2 separate regions of the Homo sapiens genome follow, and region 1 is linked to region 2. The links are contacts of gene promoters, found by promoter capture Hi-C in human tissues and cell types (Jung and others, 2019). All regions are on one chromosome and are shown on one strand. Each heading gives the region's core, a stretch centred on a gene start or on the middle of the fragment in contact. The rest is flanking DNA. Distances are from core to core; before and after follow the strand shown. Region 1 holds the start of HNRNPA1L2 (heterogeneous nuclear ribonucleoprotein A1 like 2). Region 2 holds the start of THSD1 (thrombospondin type 1 domain containing 1).

What was found. Contacts are between HindIII fragments. The study calls those that stand out against the background at their distance.
Region 1: a contact is called between a fragment that was not itself captured here and the fragment with the promoter of THSD1 in region 2, in 1 of the 25 tissues and cell types used here (spleen).

What each region holds. Positions count from the first base shown.
Region 1 is chr13:52,640,858-52,646,911 of GRCh38, forward strand. HNRNPA1L2 (heterogeneous nuclear ribonucleoprotein A1 like 2) reads left to right here and starts at 1,574. Exons shown (of 1, transcript NM_001389320.1): 1 at 1,574-2,916. The coding sequence starts at 1,636. The coding sequence ends at 2,598. The HindIII fragment of the contact is 6,422 bases long and covers 1-5,138 here.
Region 2 is chr13:52,401,944-52,408,333 of GRCh38, forward strand. It overlaps THSD1 (thrombospondin type 1 domain containing 1), which reads right to left and starts at 4,229. Exons shown (of 5, transcript NM_018676.4): 1 at 4,088-4,229; 2 at 600-738. The coding sequence starts at 657. RefSeq lists a silencer at 4,159-4,318. The HindIII fragment of the contact is 14,115 bases long and covers 1-6,390 here.

The DNA of each region.
Region 1 (6,054 bases), core at 678-3,177, 240 kb after region 2:
CACTGCACATGCTTCTTTGACAATCTCATTTACTTCCATGGCTCAGTCACATCTGATATCCACGTCCAATCAATCATGCAGCCCAGGTAATTTACCTCCTCAAAAGCTTTTAATTTGTCATTTGTCTTCATGTTTCTACCTTAGTTTAAGTTACCATCATTTCTTACAAGGAATATGCAAACTTCTGAACAGGGTTTACAAGGACCAGCATGATCTGTCCCGATATTACATCTTGACTCTCTGTAGCCCTAACATAATCTAGTCATCAACTCCTGAATAAGACATGGCTGTCAGTACTTGGCCTCTCCACACCAAATCATTGACTCAAGATTGTTTATTAAAGAAGGACCTGTGATGCTGTTGTCATTGTCCTTAACCTGTAAACTTGCTGCCTTCCTCACTTTCCATTTATTCTTTAACCCTCTGTAGTATTGCATTTGACTTATTACCCTGAATTTGTTGTTACAAAGGTCACTAAGAGTAACCAATTTCCATATTGCTGAATCCCATCCTTCCTTCTCTTCCTGGACCTCTTGATCAATTGATAACCTTTCATAACTCACTTTTCCTCTAAACTCTCTATTGCCTTCAGTTTTGCCCAATCTGAAGTGCCCAACTGTCCTATCCTGCTTCTGTAATATTTTCCCCCTTTTACCATGTAAAAAATAATTTCCTGATGTTCCCTTTGGGTTGCTCCAGAGACTTTTTCAAAGATTGGAGTTCTCCCAAGTTTTGTCTAAAGGTCACTGTTCTTATTCTCTGTTTTCAACTTGTCCGCTTCCAATCTGTTCTCCCCAGTGCAATAGGAGTGTCAGTCTAATTATGTCAAGCCTTCAGTGGTTTTTTAAATCTTTTCAGATGGAGTTGAGGCCCTATGTGGTCTCACCTCTTCTTTATCTCACCAGCCTTATGATCAAATTCTGCACTCCCAGACATAATAGCAATTAGAATAAGAATGTTTTCAATTGCAAGAAGCAAACAGAAAAACCCAACTCAAAATTATTAAATAATACAAAACAAAAAGTCAGGAGTTTGGAGGCTTCTGGGTTGGTTAACTCAGGAGCTCACTGGTATCACTGATGAACTAGGTTTCTCCATCCTTATGCTTTCACTTTCCTTGGGATATTGGTTTGGTCTTCCAGGATGGCTATTGCTAAAGGTAGCTGCAGTAATTTATTCTGTGTTTCTGTTTATCAATAAGGAGACCTTTCCCAGAATCCCTGAGCAGACACCTCATGCATGGCCCAATTGGCTAGATTAGTTATATACCCCTTCTTAAACCATATTGTTTGCCAATATGGCCAACAATGTGGGGTTGGTGATCCCAACAATGTGGGATGTGGGATTACCACAAATGACTTAGTCATGTGCTGGAGAAACAAAATTAGGGCTTCACAGCAAGGAAGAAGGGAGGAATGAAGTATCCTACTGTTATGTATACTTGTCTTTCTTCCTGTACATACACTAAAAAATGTTCAGGCCCATATGAAAAATGTATTTATTTCCCAAAGAGAATCAGCCAGAATCTCATCCAAATACTCTATCCAGCTTCATATCTAAGATCTCTGGTGGACTTTTTCTGCCCGTGGACGCCGCTGAAGAAGCATCGTTAAAGTCTCTCTTCACCTTGCCGTCATGTCTAAGTCAGCGTCTCCAAAAGAGCCCGAACAGCTGAGGAAGCTCTTCATTGGAGGGTTGAGCTTTGAAACAACTGATGAGAGCCTGAGGAGCCATTTTGAGCAATGGGGAACGCTCACAGACTGTGTGGTAATGAGAGATCCAAACACCAAGCGCTCCAGGGGCTTTGGGTTTGTCACATATGCCACTGTGGAGGAGGTGGATGCAGCTATGAATACAACGCCACACAAGGTGGATGGAAGAGTTGTGGAACCAAAGAGAGCTGTCTCCAGAGAAGATTCTCAAAGACCAGGTGCCCACTTAACTGTGAAAAAGATATTTGTTGGTGGCATTAAAGAAGACACTGAAGAACATCACCTAAGAGATTATTTTGAACAGTATGGAAAAATTGAAGTAATTGAAATCATGACTGACCGAGGCAGTGGCAAGAAAAGGGGCTTTGCCTTTGTAACCTTTGACGACCATGACTCCGTGGATAAGATTGTCATTCAGAAATACCATACTGTGAAGGGCCACAACTGTGAAGTTAGAAAAGCCCTGCCAAAGCAAGAGATGGCTAGTGCTTCATCCAGCCAAAGAGGTCGAAGGGGTTCTGGAAACTTTGGTGGTGGTCGTGGAGATGGTTTCGGTGGGAATGACAACTTTGGTCGTGGAGGAAACTTCAGTGGTCGTGGTGGCTTTGGTGGCAGCTGTGGTGGTGGTGGATATGGTGGCAGTGGGGATGGCTATAATGGATTTGGTAATGATGGAAGCAATTTTGGAGGTGGTGGAAGCTACAATGATTTTGGCAATTACAACAATCAGTCTTCAAATTTTGGACCCATGAAGGGAGGAAATTTTGGAGGCAGAAGCTCTGGCCCCTATGGCGGTGGAGGCCAATACTTTGCAAAACCACAAAACCAAGGTGGCTATGGCGTTTCCAGCAGCAGCAGTAGCTATGGCAGTGGCAGAAGATTTTAATTAGGAAACAAAGCTTAGCAGGAGAGGAGAGCCAGAGAAGTGACAGGGAAGCTACAGGTTACAACAGATTTGTGAACTCAGCCAAGCACAGTGGTGGCAGGGCCTAGCTGCTACAAAGAAGACATGTTTTAGACAAATACTCATGTGTATGGGCAAAAAACTCGAGGACTGTATTTGTGACTAATTGTATAACAGGTTATTTTAGTTTCTGTTCTGTGGAAAGTGTAAAGCATTCCAACAAAGTGTTTTAATGTAGATTTTTTTTTTTGCACCCATGCTGTTGATTGCTAAATGTAATAGTCTGATTGTGACGCTGAATAAATGTCTCTAAAAAAAAAAAAGATCTTTGGTGGAATCCGTAGGCTGCTTTTTCATCTGGTGGCTGTGGCTCTCTGGTGTTTTGTCCTCAACAGCCACATCTAATATGAGCACTGGGAAGAAGACTCTTTCTAAGGCTGCTCAGCTTTAGAGTACATTTCTTGATGGTGTGAGCTTGGTGTCCTGTCTCAGAGTCACTAGTTTCCCAGCCCGAAACAGTTGTGTCTCAATGCCCTCCATCCTGCCTTTTCCACCCGGCCAATTACACACCATTCTAGGTCTGTTTTGTAGCACTCCACTTCCAAATACCAAATTGTCTATCAGTTTGGATTCTTAGTCGTAAGCAACAGAGATGGATTCTGGTTTTCAGCATAAGATAAATTGTATTAGAAGAATATTGTGCTGCTTGCAGAATGGCCAAAAGGACTAGAGAATCAGCATCAGTCTGAGCCACACGGCTGGGAATAAATCCTGGAACCATACTGCATAACTGGTCGGGTGAGGAGATTGTAGCCACTGTTGCCAAGCACTGACACACTGCTTTGTAACACTATCTGCTGCTTTGGGAATTTGATCTTGACACATGTGCTACTGCATCTGGAGAGGATACACTAAGGTCCTTCCTTGATTTGTTGTTGCTAACCAGTTACCAATTTTAAAGTATGTGCAAGTTCAGCTTAAGTTGTTTGGCATTTTCAGCTTTTATAGAGGGAGACTGGCTCAGTGGGAAGACTCAAGGAATTCCCCAGACATAAGAAGGAGCTGAATTCTAAGTAACCCAAAAGAAAGACCTACTTAAGGACAAATCCAGGTTTTGTGGGGCCAAAATTTACACAATTTGTTGGGGTTGTGGGAGTGGGGAGGGGATTTATTTAGGAAAAATACGTACAAAATTATATTAACAAATTAGATAGGGTTTGAAGGGGCTTTTGCAAATAAACACCCCTGAAGCTGTACTTTCCAAATCACTCCGCTAGATCTGATTTCAAGCCCACTCTGCTCAGCACAGGTTATCTCATGCTGGTTACCTCCTATATGTTCTTCAGGCTTTGGCTGAGACATTACTTACTCTGAGCTTTCAAAATCTTCTGACTGCTTTCACAGAACCCCTTTAATCTCTCCCATTTAGACATATATGACACTATAATAACTGCCTGTTGATATGCGTGATTCCAACACTAGATTATTAAGCACCAAGATTGCAGTCATTTTAGTATCCCCAGTCCCTCGCATATCTATACATAGGAGGGATTCAATATTTATTAAGTGAGAAAACTACATATTCTCCTTGCCTTTTTTTTCTTTCTTTTTTGAGACAGGGTCTCGCTCTGTTGCCCAGGTTGGAGTGCAGTGGCATGATAACAGCTCACTGAACCTCGACCTGGGCTCAAGCAATCCTCCCACCTCAGCCTCAGTACACTCAGTGGACTACAGGCATGCACCACCACATCTGGCTAATGTATTTTGTAGAGAAAGTGTTTTACCATATTGCCCAGGCTGGTCTCGAGCTCCTGGGCTCAAGGGATGCTCCTGCTTTGGCATCCCAAAGTGATGGGATTACAAGTGTGAGCTACTGCGCCTGGCCTCCTTGTGCTCATGTTCTTATGTTGCTTACCACCATCCATATGCTGATGACTATCAATTCTTATCTATAGCTCTAAATGTGTTTTAAAAAAATAGCTTTAGGCCGGGCGCGGTGGCTCACGTCTGTAATCCCAGCACTTTGGGAGGCCAAGGCGGGCGGATCATGAGGTCAGGAGATCGAGACCATCCTGGTTAACAAGGTGAAACCCCATCTCTACTAAAAATACAAAAAATTAGCTGGGTGTGGTGGCGGGTGCCTATAGTCCCAGCTACTCAGGAGGCTGAGGCAGGAGAATGGTGTGAACCCGGGAGGCAGAGCTTACAGTGAGCCGAGATCACGCCATTGTACTCCAGCCTGGGCAACAGAGCAAGACTCCATCTCAAAAAATAAAATAAAATAAAATAGCTTTATAGGGCTATAGTTGACATAAAGCAAACCATGCACATTATTTAAAGTGTACAGTTTGAAGTGTTACATATGTATACACTCGTAAAATCATCACCATAATCAAGATAGTGAACATACCTATTACCCCAATGTTTCCTCATGCCCCTTTTATTCTTGAAATTCCACCCTGCTCTCCAGCCCCCACCCCCACCCAGTAAACCACTGATTGTCATACAGATGAGTTTTAAAATTTTTCAGGATTTTATATAAATGGAATCATACAAAATGTACTATTTTTGTCTGATTTTTTTCACTTAGCATAATTTTGAGATTCATCCATGTTATAGTGTGTAGCAATACTTCATTCCTTTTATTGCTGAGCAGTATTCCATTGTATGGCTATACTGGCTATACTGCTGTTGTTTTTTGTTTGTTTTGAGATGGAGTCTCGCTCTGTCGCTCAGGCTGGAGTGCAGTGGTGTGATCCTGGCTCACTGCAACCTCCACCTCCTGCATTCAAATGGTTCTCCTGCCTCAGCCTCCTGAGTAGCTGGGAATATAGGTGCGTGCCACATTTTTTTGTATTTTTAGACGAGACAGGGTTGGCCAGGCTAGTCTCAAACTCCTGATCTCAGGTGATCCACCCGCCTCCGCCTCCCAAAGTGTGGGATTACAGTCATGAGTCACTGCACCTGGCCAGCTGTACTACTGTTTATCCATTCACCTATTGATGTACATTTGGGTTGTTTCCAGTTTTCAACTGTTAACCATTAAAACTGCTATAAACAGACACAGACATTTTGTACAAACATTGCATGAACATGTTATTTCATATCTCTTGGGTGCTAATTGTGTAGCAGTGGTCTAAGTCATTTTATGGTTGTGCCTTTTTACATTCCTACCAGTGGTGTATGAGTCTTCCAGTTGCTCTACATCCTTGCCAACATGGTCAGTCTTTCTCCTTTTAGCCGTTTAAATGGGTGTGTAGTGGCATATGGTTGTGGTTTTAATTTCTATTTCCCTATTGACTTACAGTTTCTGAGTTTTGAGACATCTTCATATATTCTGGATGCAAGCTCTTCATCAGAGATGTGATTGCAAATATTTTCATAGTGTAGAATCTTTTAAATTTTGGTGAAGTCTAATTTACAAATTTCTTCTTTTAT
Region 2 (6,390 bases), core at 2,979-5,478:
AATGAACTCAATTTTTAGGTGAAACGAATGACGAGAACAGACTTTAAGCACCTACTATTTGCTCATTCAGGGTGTTTTGCACTCTTGATATTATCATAACAACCCTGTAAAGTCAATATTATTGCTGAGATTGAAAGAGATTAAGAAACTTTTCTAAGAGCACGCAACTTTCAAGGATTGAAATTCAGATTGGGTCCAAATGTATGTTAGCACCAAAACTCGGTCAAGTGAAATCTTATGTAGAACCCTAATATACACAACATCATTGCATGTGTGTATGAAGTGATTTATCACACTTAATTACTGGGAAATCAAAGAGAACTCAAGGTAACATGCTTGCCTCCAATTTGTTAAAATTTGAGAGAGTTGGTTTTTTTATTTTTTTAAGAGTTAAAAATATAAAATGAAATACGAATCAATCATGCAGAATCACTGAAGCATAAGAGAACCCAGGGTTGCAAGGGTCACAGTTGAGAAAGCACTGCACTATATACCCTACCCTGCCTCCTTCAGGAAGAGTCATCAACATCAATGCATTTATAATGTCATCTTTATGTCTTATTGCTACCAGTAGCGTTAAGTATACTCACAATACTCACCATAGTCACAGAGTACCACCAACAATAGATTTGAAAAGTCTTTCAACATTGGTTTCATTCTGATTGACAAAATCCCAGGTCTTTAGTCTCCTCATGTCCTTTCTCACGTCCAGATTGTGATTTTTTTCCCCAAAAACACCTGAAATTAGAACCTCAAAAAATGATGGCTCCGTTCAATGTGATTGATAAAATAGTAATCATTAAATGACAAAACCATTCTAAAACTCAAACTTTCTAAGTGATATTGAAAGGAAACTAGAGAGGACACTAATTTTCCCTGGGGCAATGACTTATAATTATACAAGCCTTTTTCATTCCATTATAACTCACAGGTCAAGAATATGCAGGTATGCCCAACACCCACTAAAATTATCTTTGCACAACACCAAAGTCTCTTCTCTTTACAGCACATCCTGACGTGGAGAGTTTATTGTTATTTGCTTAATTTTATCAAAGTTAATAGCCAATTTGGATACATTTTCACATTATTTATCTGCTTGGCATTTCACACTGATCAATTTACTAAATTTCTGCTAAACTTTAATTTAGCATTGTGCTGTGTATACCCAAATGCTCCCTGCCTGGCGTCCACAAATGGGCTAACATTTCCTTGCACAATTGGTGTGTTACCAGGATTGCTTCATTTATCAATTCCTAGGAGCTACATCCAAGTGATCAAAGCTTTTTTAAAAAAAAGATACCCCAGAATACTACAATTAAATATGAACTCCATGTGGCCCTGACTTCCCTTGTTTAGGGCAGCCTAAGGAGAAAACAGACAAATAACAATCATCTTCATCAGTCCTGCAATACTTGTTGCTGCTGGTATGCATCACGAGATCGGTGGTTCACACAGCAATCTTCCCAGTCTACCTAAGAGGGCAGGGAAGACCTTGCTGGCCTGTGGTTCAGTTATTTGTTGGAAGAAGCACTTATTTTATTTTATTTATTTATTTAGAGATGGAGTCTCACTCTGTCGCCTAGGCTGGAGTACAGTGGCGAGATCTCGGCTCACTGCAAGCTCCGCTTCCCGGGTTCACGCCATTCTCCTGCCTCAGCCTCCCGAGTAGCTGGGACTACAGGCGCCCACCACCATGCCCAGCTAATTTTTGGTATTTTTAGTAGAAACGGGGTTTCATTGTGTTAGGCAGGATCTCGATCTCCTGACCTCGTGATCTGCCCATCTCAGCCTCCCAAAGTGCTGGGATTACAGGCGTAAGCCACCGCACCCGGCTGGAAAAGGCACTTATTTTTATATAGACTATTCAACTATAGAATAAGATACTGGGCATTTAAGACAGTTCTTTCATACTAGAGTCTAGCAAACTATGTATTAATATTAAATATAACCAAATATGTACTTTCTTAATGTTTAAGGTCCCCCCCATTATTCACATTTTTTTTTTTTTTTTTTTTTTTTTTTTAGACAGAGTCTTGCTCTGTCACCTAGCCTGGAGTGCAGTGGCATGATCTTGGCTCACTGCAACCTCCACCTCCCAGGTTCAAGTGATTGTCCCACCTCAGGCTTCTGAGTAGCGGGGATTATAGGTGTGCACCACCACGCTTGGCTAATTTTTGTATTTTTAGTAGAAACGGTGTTTCACCACTTTGGCCAGGCTGGTCTCAGATGTCTGGCCTCGTGATCTGCCCACCATGGCCTCCCAAAGTGCTGGGATTACAGGCGTGAGCCACCACACCCAGCCCACAGTTAATCATTTTAATAAGCAAGTATATTATATTCCAAATACATGTTACATCTTTTCAGATAAGAGCACAAATTAGTGGAATTAAGAAGACTGATTGAAATAAGCCAGAATTCAATGGAAGGGAAACTGGTGTGTCTTATTAGCTTTCTTTCAGCAAGAGCTGCTGAACAAAGGAAATACTGTACTTCCTGAAAGGGAAACAGAGATTTGAAGTGTAACTATGCAGATTAGGGCTCCTTCCTCTTCCCCGCCACCCCCACCCAAAAAAAAGAAAAGAAAGGAAAGAAGAAGAAAATTGTTTTGGGTGGAATTAGCCACAGACTTGACCCAATTCTTTCCTCGAACATGGACTGGGAAACCTGGGCAAAGTCAGCCAGTAAGATCCTTGCAGAACACATCACATCACTTGGGCAAGTGTGAGCACTTAAGACAATTACAATGCTTCTTTTAAGTCACTGAGACCTGGTAACCAAACTAAGAAGAAGCAAGCTCCCAAAAGTTGAACTGGCTTCTCTCAGATTTGTTTGCTTCCACGACAATAACATTTTTATTTTTGAAGCCCCAAATCATTACTGATTTAGTGATTATAACACATTTTCTTTCTTATGAAAATGATCGGTAAAACATAGAATGGTGAGACAATCTATATTTAGAGCTGAATGGAAAAAGACTTATAAAACAGACCAGCCTACTTGTCAATCATAATATGGAATATGATCATAACATTAGTCATAATATGTCTCTTTAATTTCTTTCTACCTTGCTTATTTTCTTTCAACATGTTGTTCTCAATACCTCGACTGACTTCTTACAATGTTTGCATTGAGAATTGTTCTAAGAAATTAAGAACTTAGATATATTTTATACACATTTGAAAATACTTCTACCTAGCATTCTTGTATGTAAACTTTAGAGACAAATTCTAAATGCATCAGCTGAGAAGGTGGGGAAAAGTTGTGAATATTCTCAATGGCTAACAGCATCACCCAACCTGAGACCCCATGTTTTTGCTGAAACCAGCTAGGACAAACGCTTCTAAATCTCCCTTCATAGCTGCAGAAAAAGTAAATGAATTACACTAATGTCCATGGGACCAATGATTCGTGAAAGAATAAAATGGAAAACGAAGCAGTTATTTTGTCCCTTCTGACCAACATGCACATGCTTGTGTGTATATATACCAATAGTATTTATTGGGAGGAAATCTCTAGTTCTAAAGCAGCTCGTGTAAACAGGCTTCATTTATCTGTTCATTCGAGTTTGCTCTGCCCTGGTCCCACAGGTTGGGTGCAGCGTTCCTGGGACGCCCTGGCTCGCCCCATCTACTCAGCTTCCCAAATGCCCGCAAGCCCAGTTCACGCCTGGAAGTCTACCCCTCGCGTCGTCAGCTTAAAGCCCTCCTTAATGAGGACCGTCTTTAATTTAATTTAATCCTTGTATTTCATACTTTTTGTATATCAGAAAGGATTTCTTTTTGGAAAGAAACAGTAGCTCAAGACGCGATTTTTCAAGGTTCTGTGGCCAGTCTCAGTCACTCGGCAACATCTGAGCCAAGGCAGAGCCAGGTTCACTTAAATTCGGGACTCCGAAGTGTGGAGACCAATACCCCTTAAAAGCGTCCCCTGGGGCCGAGGCGGGTGTGGGGAGGGGCCGCCACCGTCCACCTGCGCCTTCAGGCTGCGGTGAGGTGGCAGAGTCCGGAGGCATTTCCCGACCCCAGAGGAGCCTCCAAGAGTCTCGCGGCACGGGCGCGAACACCAGGATGCGGAGGGCGCTTCTTACCTTTCGAGACTGACGGGCAGCAACCCCAGGCCGTCCGGGCGCGTGGCGAGGCGGACGGGAAGGCTCAGGGGCGGCGAGGTAGAGCGCCAAGCATCCCGCGTCCCAGACTGCACGCCCTGACCCCGCGGCGTTCGGCTCCCACAGCCCCGCGGGGCCCGCCCCCGACGGCGTGGGGAGGGCGGGCGCCGGGAGGGCGGGGGGCACACGGGACCGGGCGTGGTCGGTTCCCGCCCCTTCTGGGCAGCGCATCCTTTCCTGCCGGTCCCCAGCTCGCCAGCTGCTGGACAGGAAACAGGCAGGAAACGCGCGGCCAGCCAAGGTCCTGCGGGAGGGGGTGCGGCCCCGGCAGACGCAGGTCCCCTCAACACACACCCGCATCCACAGCACACAGCCGGACCAGGGGTTTAACGAAGGACGAGCGAGCAATCTCCTGACACTTCACATTCAATCACTTCTACTCTAGTGTCATTTTCTTCAGGGAGACCACAAAAATAAGTCCTTGAAGCGGCACAGCATGTGGGCTGTAAACTTGCTTTCCCAAATGTCACTGAAGAGTTTCAAAAGAACATAGTTCAGGTAAAGTGCATCTCCATTTTCTTTCCCTGGGGTCAGAATTGGTATTAAAAATAACTAAACATTTTAAAAACTCTACTCTGCAAGTGTTAAAGTTCTTTTTATAGGAATGTGAATTAGTTCAGCCACTGTGGAAAGCAGTTTGGAGATTTCTCAACTAAAAACAGAAAGATCATTCGACCCAGCAATCCCATTACTGGGTGTATGCCCAAAGGAAAATAAATCATTCTGCCAAAAAGACACCCGCACTATGTTTATCACAGTACTATTTACAATAGCAAAGACATGGAATCAACCTAGGTGCCCATCAACAGTAGACTGGGTAAAGAAAATGTGGTACATACACACCACGAAATACTAAACAGCCATAAAAAAAGAACAAAATCACGTCCTCTGTAGCAACATGGATGCAGTTGGAGGACATTATCCTAAGTGAATTAACATAGGAACAGAAAACCAAACACCGAATGTTCTCACTTATAAGTGGGAGCTTAAACAACGGGTACTCATGGACATAAAGATGGCAACAACAAACACTGGAGACTCCAAGTCAAGGGAGGGAGAGAAAGGGGCAAGGGCTGAAAAACATCCTATTGGGTACTGTGTCCGGAATTGGTGGGTTCTTGGTCTTTCTGACTTCAAGAATAAAGCTGCGGACCCTCGCGGTGAGTGTTACAGTTCTTAAAGGCGGCCTGTCCGGAGTTTGTTCCTTCTGATGTTCGGATGTGTTCAGAGTTTCTTCCTTCTGGTGGGTTCGTGGTCTCGCTGGTTCAGGAGTGAAGCTGCGGACCTTCGCCATGAGTGTTACAGCTTTTAAGGCGGCGCGTCTGGAGTTGTTCGTTCCTCCCAGTGTGTCCGTAGTCTCGCTGGCTTCAGAAGTGAAGCTGCAGACCTTCGCAGTGAGTGTTACAGCTCATAAAGGCAGTGTGGACCCAAAGAGTGAGCAGCAGCAAGATTTATTGCAAAGAGCCAAGGAACAAAGCTCCCACGCTTTGCAAGGGAACCCCAGCGGGTTGCCACTGCCGGCGCGTGCAGCCTGCTTTTATTCTCTTATCTGGCCCCACCCACATCCTGCTGATTGGTTCATTTTACAGAGAGCGGAGTGGTCTGTTTTGACAGGGCGCTGATTGGTGCATTTACAATCCCTGAGCTAGACACAAAGGTTCTCCACGTCCCCACTACATTAGCTAGATACAGAGTGTCCACACAAAGGTTCTCCAAGTCCCCACAAGAGTAGCTAGATACAGTGTCCATTGGTGCATTCACAAACCCTGAGCTAGACACAGGGTGCTGATTGGTGTGTTTACAAACCTTGAGCCAGATAGAGTGCCGACTGGTGTATTTACAATCCCTTAGCTAGCCATAAAGGTTCTCCAAGTGCCCACCAGTGAGGAGCCTAGCTGGCTTCACCCAGTGGATCCCGCACCGGGGCTGCAAGTGGAGCTGCCTGCCAGTCCCGCGCCCTGTGCCCGCACTCCTCAGCCCTTGGGTGGTCGATGGGACTGGGCGCTGTGGAGCAGGGGGTGGTGCTCGTCAGGGAGCTCGGGCCTCACAGGAGCCCATGGAAGGTGGGGGAGGCTCAGGCATGGCGGGCTGCAGGTCCCGAGCCCTGCCCTGCTCAGGGAGGCAGCTAAGGCCCTGCGAGAAATTGAGCGCAGCGCCGGTGGGCCGGCACTGCTGGGGGACCCAGCACACCTTCTGCAGCTGCTGGCCCAGGTGCTAAGCCCCTC